3 separate regions of the Homo sapiens genome follow, and all the other regions are linked to region 1. Evidence: promoter capture Hi-C in human tissues and cell types (Jung and others, 2019). All regions are on one chromosome and are shown on one strand. Each heading gives the region's core, a stretch centred on a gene start or on the middle of the fragment in contact. The rest is flanking DNA. Distances are from core to core; before and after follow the strand shown.

Region 1 (2,500 bases), core at 1-2,500:
TGTTTGGTTCCCACCCGCTCCAGCAGAGCCAGACCAGGGAAGAAGAGGGTTTCCTGGCTACAGCCTCCCTGTGTGCAAGTCCTGCAAAGGGGTCTCCTGTTTGGCTATGAAATGAATATAGATAGATAGCTCACAAGCTGGCAGCCACCAGAGTCCCGTGGGGCTGAGCCTTAGAAAGGCTGGGAGGTCAGCAAGGCTGAATGAAGGGCAGTCCTTGCTTTCTGGAAGACTGGCACCTGAGAGCCTATGTGAACCCTTTCCTCCTGCTGACCCCTGGACTGCGGCCAGGCCTACACACGCCAGGGAACGGGCACACACCATTCTTGTGAAGTTCACAAACTGCAGATTGATCAGCAGGGGGAAGGGATCATAATGCCGTGGTGGCGGCAGCCTACTTTTTCAAAATCAATTTCCTACTGGAGATGGGTGGGAAATTGAAGTCGGTGCGAGCTAAGGCTGGATACACGGCGCGTAGGGGAGATCAGGCACTCGGTTGAAGTAGGCCCCGAGGAAGATGAGGCTGGAGCCCACGCTGAAGAGCACCAGAGCGGCCCAGAAGCAGATGTTGTCAAGGGCATTCCCCATGCGCACCCAGTCGGACACTTCCTGGGGAAGGGTCGGCACAGTCAGTAAAGAGGCAGCTGCAGGAGCCAGCGGCATGGGAGACAGTGGTGGGCCTCTGCCTCGCTCCACCCGCCTCTGGCTCCTGTCCCACCTCGCCGGTGGCCTCCTGATCTCTCGTGCTCTCGGCCACGAAGTTCACGGCATCCACACAGCAGCGGACCTCGGGGGCGGCGGCGCCCAGGCTCTGGCAGAAGGCAGCTGGCGGGGAAAACACCGGGGTGGGCCTTAGGAGCCTCCCCCCTGGCAGGCACCCCGCGCGGCCCCCCGGGCCAGGGCCACTGTGCTCACCCGTCCAGGTCCCCTGCCGGTGCCTCTGCCCCTCAAACACGAGCTCGCTCCGTGGCTTTTTCAGTATCAGCTCCTCCGCGCGGAGCAATAAGCCCACCGACGACGCCCGCCTTGGGGGCGAGGCGGCCCGGGGGGCCTCGGGCGGCGGCGGGGAGCCCAGGAGGCGCGGCAGCAGCTCCAGGAGAACCTGGGGCAGGGGCGGGGCTTAGGGGACGAGGTTAGTACGAAGCCCCACCCCGACCCGGGCTGCACCGCCCCCTCCGCGCTTACGTGGCGCAGCCGCGGGGACATGGCGTGGGTGGTGGGCGTCCGCTGGGACACGTTGAGCACGATGACGCAATTCATGACAATGAGCGTGGCGACCACCATGACGAAAATAAGGAACCTGAGGAGCCCGGAAGGCATGACATCACCGTTCCTCCTCCCAGCTACCGAAGGCGCCGCGCGCTGACCTCACAAACACGGCTTCTCCTGGTACGGGCTGGTTACGCCCTCCAGCTGCGCCCCCTACACGACGACAGACGCGTCCCCCAGCCCTTCTCCTGTCCTACCACTTGTGGCGGCCATGAAGGGGACCCCCAGCTCCCTGGACACCCTGATGTGGATCTACCACTTCCACAGCTCCACCGAGGTGAGGCTACGCCCGCCAAGGGCTGCACCTCGAGACCTTCTGGGTAGGTCTCCTGTTCGCCCCTGTGACCCCTGCCCTGCTACTCTACTGCTCTGCTCCTTCTCCAGGTGGCCCTCCAGCCCCCGCTTCTGTCTTCCCTGGAACTCTCCGTGGCCGCAGCCCATGAATATCTGGAGCAGAGGTTCAGAGAGCTGAAGTCCCTGGAGCCACCCGAACCGAAGATGCAGGGGATGCTGCCTGCCCCGAAGCCCACCCTGGGGCTGGTGTTGAGAGAAGCCACAGCCAGCCTCGTGAGCTTCGGCACCACCTTGTTAGAGGTGGGGTACTGGGGGGCTTAGGATACGCGGCGATCGGGTAGCGGGAACAAGGACCTCTGCCTCCCCGCTAACCCCTGTGCCCCCAATGCAGATCTCAGCCCTGTGGCTGCAGCAGGAGGCGCGGCGACTAGACGGCAGCGCGGGCCCAGCCCCAGACGGCAGGGATCCGGGTGCAGCGCTGAGCCGGGTAGCCCAAGCCGCAGGGCAGGGGGTTCGGCAAGCTGGGGCTGCGGTGGGCGCCAGCGCCCGGCTCCTAGTCCAGGGAGCATGGCTATGCCTGTGTGGACGGGGTCTGCAGGGGTCTGCCTCATTCCTGCGACAGTCGCAACAGCAGCTAGGCCTCGGAATCCCCGGAGAACCGGTGAGCTCAGGACACGGGGTGAGTTAGGGGCCAGAGGCGGCGGGGCTAGGGAGGCACTGAGCCGGACTGTCCCCCAAGAGAGCTACTCGGGAGACCTCCAGGTGACGTCCAGCAGCAGTGAGGAGGACGGCGGACCAGGGACTCCATCCCCGTACCAGCCCCACCCAGCGTCCGAATAAAGCCCAGGGCGGGGCGAGACAGCCAGAGCTTTTCCCGGGGTCTCTGGGTTTTGGCCACGCCCCCACCCTTCACACTGGCCACACCCCCGCGGGGGCTCCG
Region 2 (3,186 bases), core at 430-2,929, 400 kb before region 1:
GTGAAGGGCGGGGGACAGATTCTTGCACAGACAAAAATCAGCACAGTGTTGGTGTGATGGAAGGATACACAGGTTACTCAATAGCCCAGAGGAGGAAATGGTTGTTCAGGTGGGCCGGGGAAGGCTTCCCGGAGGAAGCTGTTTCTGTGCTGGGTTCCTGAAGGACAAGTGGGAAGAGTGAATAGGCCACACAGGCAGAGCATGCCTCAGTCAGGGTCGGGGTCAGGGGTTGCACGCGGGATGCTCTCCATGGTCCTGAATCATCGCTGTGCTAGTGGGACAAGGGCTTTTTTGTTGATAGGAGGACAGGGGCTATAGAATAGTGCCCCAATTCTTGCCCCTCCCCCAGGCTCCAGGAAGTATTATAACTGTGAGTTCAAGAAGCTCCATGTTCAGTGTGGCAGAGGGTAATTTTGAGAGATGGGCCGTAGGATCTGAGGCTGGAGATTGTCATGGGTTGTGAAAAGTTGTGAAGGCTCTTGGAGATCATTAAGGAATGTAGTTTTTTTTTTTGAAACAGAGTCTCGCTCTGTCACCCAGACTGGAGTGCAGTGGCGCGATCTCGGCTCACTGCAAGCTCCGCCTCCTGGGTTCACGCCATTCTCCTGCCTCAGCCTCCCGAGTAGATGGGACAACAGGCGCCCACCACCACGCCCAGCTAATTTTTTGTATTTTTTAGTAGAGACAGGGTTTCACCATGTTAGCCAGGATTGTCTCGATCTCCTGACCTCGTGATCCGCCCGCCTCGGCTTCCCGAAGTGCTGGGATTACAGGCGTGAGTCACTGCGCCCGGCCAGGAACGTAGACATTTTTAACCCTATAGCCAGTGAAGAGCCTTAGAAAGGTTTTGCTCAAGGTAGTGATGAGGTCCTTTGTGGGATTCAGAAAGTGACTGATAAGCAATATGGAGAAACGACTGGAGGGCCGGCCGAGCACAGTGGCTCACGCCTGTAATCCCAGCACTTTGGGATGCCAAGGTGGGTGGATCACTTGAGGCCAGGAGTTCGAGACCAGCCTGGCCAACATGATGAAACCCCGTCTCTACTAAAAATAAAAAAAATTAGCCGGGCATGGTGGTGCACACCTGTAATCCCAGCTACTCAGGAGGCTGAGGCAGGAGAATTGCTTGAACCCAGGAGGCAGAGGTTGCAGTGAGCCGAGATTGTGCCATTGCACTCCAGCCTGGGTGACAGAGCAGGACTCCGTCTCAAAAAACAAACAAACAAAACTGGAGGGGGATGTGGGAACAGGTAATGTTGAGCTTTACAAGGGTCCAGGTAAGACACAGAGAGGCCTGAGCTAAGCCAGTGGGCAATGTGGACGTGGGGAGATGTTCAAGAGAGGAAATTGAAAGCCCTTAGATGTGGCTGTTGAGGAGAAGGAGCCCCACATGGCTCCCAGGCTTTCTGCTTGGCGACAGTGTGGATGATGGTGTTTTTGACAAAAGATAAATGATACCAGAGTGGGAGCAGGTTGGGGGAAGGATGACAAGTTCAGTTTCAAATGTGCTGAGCCTAAGGTACATGTGGGATATCTGGTGGGGGGCACGTGTAGGAGGCTGCATATGGATCTCGTGTTTGGAGATGAGGCCCTGTCTAGAGATGGAGGTTGGGGTGTCATAGTCACATGGATGATCATTGAAAGTTGAGGCCACAGCTGCACATGGTGCTCACCCCTCTAACCCCAGCATTTTGGTAGGCTGAGGTGGGAGGATCACTTGAGCCCTAGAGTTTGAGACCAGCCTGGTCAACATAGTGAGACCTTTTTCCTAAAAAAAAAATTGCTGGGTGTGGTGGTGCACGCTTATAGTCCCAGCCTTTTGGGAAGCTGAGGTGTGGATCCTCAGGAGAGGAAGACTCTTCTTTTTTATATATATATTTTTATTTTTTATTATTATTTTTTTCTTCCTGAGATGGAGTCTTGCTCTGTCACCCAGGCTGGAATATGAAAGTCTCCGTTTCTCTGTCTTTGCTCCTGTCTGTCTTGGCTCTCTTTTTTTTGTTTTTTGTTTTTTTGTTTTTTGTTGTTGTTGTTGTTTTGAGACAGAGTCTCACTCTGTCACCCACGCTGGAGTGCAGTGGTGTGATCTCGGCTCACTACAACCTCCGCCTCCTGGGTTCAAGCAATTCTCCTCCCAAGTAGCTGGGATGACAGGCGCATGCCACCACACCCAGCTAATTTTTGTGTTTTCACTAGAGATGGGGTTTCTCCATGTTGGCTAGGCTGATCTTGAATTCCTGACCTCAAGTGATCTGCTCGCCTTGGCCTCCCAAAGTGCTGGGATTACAGGCATGAGCCACCGCGCCCAGCATCAGGAAGCCCCTTCTTAAGGAGGATCCCTTGAGCCCAAGAGGTCAAAGTTATGATGAGCTATGATTGCACCACTGCGTTCCAGCCTGGGTGACAGAGAGAGACCCTGCCTCTTAAAAATTTTTTCAAAAAAAGTAAATTTCAGGCCTAGGTGAGAGGCTGCCAAGGGGGAAGGGAAACAACCGAGGCCTGAGCCCTGGAGACACTCCCATGTGGGAGGATGGGCAGAGGGCAGATGGGCTGAGCTCCCAATTACCAGCCAAGGAGGAGCAAGTGCATTCTAGGCCAGTGTTTCTCAGAGTGTGTCCTGCAGAGCTCTCGTCTTGCAAGACATTCTGTGGTCACACACACCTGGGAACGTGGCATCCTATATCTCCCTCTGGGAGACTCAGAGCATGTATTCTCATAGTAAAGGCTCTCAAAAGTCCCTAAGGAAACCTACTTTTCTGTGTTTATCCCACTACTTCCCAAGTATGACTGCTCTTTGAATAATGGCCATTAATGTTCTGTGCCCCATTTTTTTCTTTTTTGTGTGTGTTCTTTTCTTTTTTTCCCCCCACTTTTGTTTTTTGTTTTTGTTTTTGTTTTTGAGATGGAGTCTCACTCTGTCACCGAGGCTGGAGTGCAGTGGCATGATCTTGGCTCACTGCAACCTCTGCCTCCCAAGTTCAAGCAATTCTCCTGCCTCAGCCTCCTAAGTAGCTGGGATTACAGGCGCGCCCCACCACGCCTGGCTAATTTTTGTATTTTTAGTAGAGACCGGGTTTCACCATGTTGGCCAGGCTGGTCTCGAACTCCTGACCTCAGGTGATCCACCCACCTCGGCCTCCCAAAGTGCTGGCATTACAGGTATGAGCCACCACGCCGGCCCCCATT
Region 3 (3,186 bases), core at 287-2,786, 320 kb before region 1:
GGGACTGGGCTTCTGTGGCTGAGACCAGGGTTTTTGAACTCCAGGTTCTTGTGCTGAGACCTGGAGGGGCTTTGAGTGCTGTCTGCGGCAAGAGCAGCAGCAGCGTCTCTGGAGGCTGCTACTAAAGATTCCACCTGGAGAAAGCATTCAGGGAGCAGTTTGGCTCACCCTGTCCAGATGGCTACCTGGAATGCACACACATGCTCACACATATATGCAGCATGCACACCTTTTGGCATTTGCCTTTTTCATGAAATAATTGCTGGAAGGCTCCTTGGATTAGGTAACCCAGCGTTCCTTCCTGTCCCCTTGGGGCTGGGGGCGGGGGAGAGAACCAGCATTTAGCATCTGTCAGGCTGCTCCAGTTCCTTTGGGGCAATGATGGCCAGTCCAGGAGGGTTTGTGGGCTCCAAACAACCTTGGGAGCAGAACATGATATGAACAAGCCTTTCAGACTTCTCCTTCCTGCAGGTCAGCTGGCTATGCATGCCCAGCCTCTGGGCCTCTTTCAGGCAGGCCAGGCTTGGGAAAAAGAAGGCCAATTAGGAAAGGTTTTTTGCACAAAGGAGGATATGTTCTCATTTTTATTTTAAATCAGCTTTATGATATAGCGAAAACTTAGAGTTAGCTTTGCCCATCATCCCATCGTCCTAAAGCAACACCTGTTTCCCTTCTTCCCTTTTCTGGTGATGGTTTGGGGTGTGCATTTGGAAGGGGGAACTATCTGGGTTCAGCCATAAAGAGCATTGAGAAGGAATAGGGGTAAGACCCCTGGCCTACGGGTAGAGGCCAGTGACTGAGACTCTCATTGCGGGAGGGGGCGATTAGTCGCAAAGCCGCCCATTCCAGGATTTGGAGATGCAGCTCCAGCACACCCTTCTTTCTCTGTCTGCCCTTAGCCTCTCCAGGATCTCCTAACGGAGGCCCCTTGGTGGGTCGGGAGCCTCTACCGACCACTAGTGGGAAGGGCACGAAGATCTTGCTATACAGAGTAGGACTGGGAGGGGACAGCGCGTAGTCGCAGAGTCAGGGAGGGGACCTCACCACCTGTCTCCTCCCTGAGGTCTTAGAACAGATACAAGAAATTCCAGGCGAAGGTCCCACAGGTGAGCGTGTGCCTGCGAGAGCCGTGGCCGCTGCATAGGGAGGGCCCCGCGGAGTGGGGCGGCAGCTGTGGGAGCTGTAGGTGTCCCCATTAGCCCGGGAGTCTCCGCCCCCGGAGGAACCTGGGCCTTGCGGGTGAGAGTCCCGAGCGAACGCGTCAGCCCGGGTGTGCTCTCTACGGTCCAGGGGGGCCAGGGCCTTCTTCGGGTGGGCCCGCCGCCCCTCCCGCAGGCCGCACGCCGCTCCTCCGGGGTCGCAGGGCTCAGTTAAGAGCCGGGGAGGGGAGAGGCTGGGCGAGCTCTCCCTCCGCACCGTCCCGCTGGGCTCCAGGGCAGGGGGGTGTCCCGGAGTCGTCCCCGGCTCCGCCCCCGAGGCCCCGCCCCGCGCCCGCCTCCCCGGCAGCCCCTCGAGCGAAGCCAGCCACGGACGGCCAGTCGCGGCCCGGAGCTGCGGAGCTCGGATCTTCTCCCCCGTCTGGCCCGCTCTCGACCCGCGCGCTCTGCTGGGCCATGGAGCCGGCCCCCGACGCCCAGGAGGCGCGCACTGTGCGCGAGGCGCTGGGCCGCTACGAGGCGGCGCTGGAGGGTGCGGTGCGCGCGCTGCACGAGGACATGCGGGGGCTGCAGCGCGGCGTGGAGCGGCGAGTGGCAGAGGCGATGCGCCTGGCCGGCCCCCTGGCGCGCACGGTGGCCGACCTGCAGCGGGACAACCAGCGGCTGCAGGCGCAGCTCGAGCGCCTGACGCGCCAGGTGGAGGCGCTGGGCTTGGCCAGCGGGATGTCCCCGGTGCCCGGCACTCCCGGCACGCCCAGCCCCCCGCCCGCGCCCGGGGTTCCCGACCGCGCGCCCCGCCTGGGCAGCGCACGCTTCGCCAGCCACGCCACCTTCTCGCTGTCCGGCCGCGGCCAGGTGAGCCCGGGGGAGCGCGTGCGCTGGCGCCAGGGAGTGGGGCTCCGAACCGGGTGCCGCCCCTTCGCCCCGACTGCCTGCCTCTGCTCGCGTCTGCGGGGTTGGGGCCTTCACCGGCCGCTCGGACTAGGTGATGGGGGTCCTGCCGCCCCTCCGGAGTTGGAGAGGGCGGGGGGAGGACCGCTGAGCCTGCCAGCTGCACCTGTCTTGGTCCTCCGCCCTGTTTTAGAGCCAGGCTCTGTTTGCTCAGAGTCCTGTCTCCCTCTCTCCTCTGTCCCATGACATCAACGGCTTGGGCGCCGAAGTCCGGCCCCTGACTGTTCAGCACTGCCTGGAGCCACGCGGGGCATGTTGGAATGGTCGACACCCCTGCCTGACCCCCACCCTCCATTCACGCTCCCCTGCGTTGCCGCTTCACTGAGGCCTGACGGCTCTGGTTATTGATTAACTCAGATTGAGAACTCAGGCCCCTGGATGGGTGGGGAGGGGGGTCGAGGGGGACGCGATCAGCAGCGGCTTTTGGGAACTCTCCATCGCAGGGGGTAAATCCCTTACCGTGAAGGGAGAGAGGTGGAAACCCGCCTTGAGCCGTGTCTAGATTCCTCGGGTCAGTGACTAGCCAGAGGCCCACACCACGTGGGGATAGGGCGGAGGCCGACGTGGACCAGTCACTACCTTGCGCATGGGCCACCCAGAGCAGTTAGAATGTGTCCATGGTGTGTGCAGTGGCCCTTGGGTGGGATTTTCCATCCTGATCAGGCATGTGCTCTCGGGTTGGGTTCCCAGGATCTGGGGCTGTGTAGCCTGCACCTGCTCCCTCCTTGGTGCAATCCCTGGGGCTCTCAGATTTCCCGCTGTGGGCTGGGCTGGACCCTAGGGGGCCTGGAGGAGGGTATCAGATTGGGCCTTCCCCCTGGAGGTCCCATCCAGGGTGGGAGATGGCCCCAGACCAAGTTTGGGCAGCCAGAGATGTTTTGCTCCAAACACAGTAGTTAGCCCCTTCTCAGTGGGTATCTCAGCAAGGCTTTGTGCTGGGGGCCTGGGGCTTGCTGCTACTGGTGCAGATGAGGGTGGGGTGGGGGCTGTGCAGGAAGCCTCAGAAAGGCTGAAAGTACTCACTGGTGAGTGCAGCCTCGAGGTATGCGAGTGGAGTGGGCAGTGGCGAATGCCCCTA

The links. The method cuts DNA at HindIII sites, captures the fragments that hold promoters and counts their contacts. A contact is called where the count stands out against the background at its distance.
Region 2: a fragment that was not itself captured here is called in contact with the fragment with the promoter of C17orf107 in region 1 in 1 of the 25 tissues and cell types used here (lymphoblastoid cells).
Region 3: a contact is called between the fragment with the promoter of SMTNL2 here and the fragment with the promoter of C17orf107 in region 1, in 2 of the 25 tissues and cell types used here (lymphoblastoid cells and spleen).

Annotation. Positions count from the first base shown.
Region 1 is chr17:4,898,286-4,900,785 of GRCh38, forward strand. C17orf107 (chromosome 17 open reading frame 107) reads left to right here and starts at 1,251. Exons shown (of 3, transcript NM_001145536.2): 1 at 1,251-1,543; 2 at 1,651-1,860; 3 at 1,952-2,500. The coding sequence starts at 1,478. The coding sequence ends at 2,248. CHRNE (cholinergic receptor nicotinic epsilon subunit) reads right to left here. Exons shown (of 12, transcript NM_000080.4): 9 at 1,183-1,297; 10 at 913-1,099; 11 at 716-822; 12 at 1-606. The coding sequence ends at 451. RefSeq lists silencers at 848-997, 1,018-1,127 and an enhancer at 1,328-1,637. The HindIII fragment of the contact is 33,281 bases long and covers 1-2,500 here.
Region 2 is chr17:4,493,205-4,496,390 of GRCh38, forward strand. The region is part of intron 2 of SPNS2-AS1 (SPNS2 antisense RNA 1); the gene reads right to left. Among named protein-coding and RNA genes, the nearest start is that of SPNS2-AS1, 3.9 kb to the right of the region's middle. The HindIII fragment of the contact is 5,950 bases long and covers 1-3,186 here.
Region 3 is chr17:4,582,993-4,586,178 of GRCh38, forward strand. SMTNL2 (smoothelin like 2) reads left to right here and starts at 1,537. Exons shown (of 8, transcript NM_001114974.2): 1 at 1,537-2,012. The coding sequence starts at 1,614. RefSeq lists enhancers at 656-1,275, 1,276-1,895, 2,516-3,133. The HindIII fragment of the contact is 15,336 bases long and covers 1-3,186 here.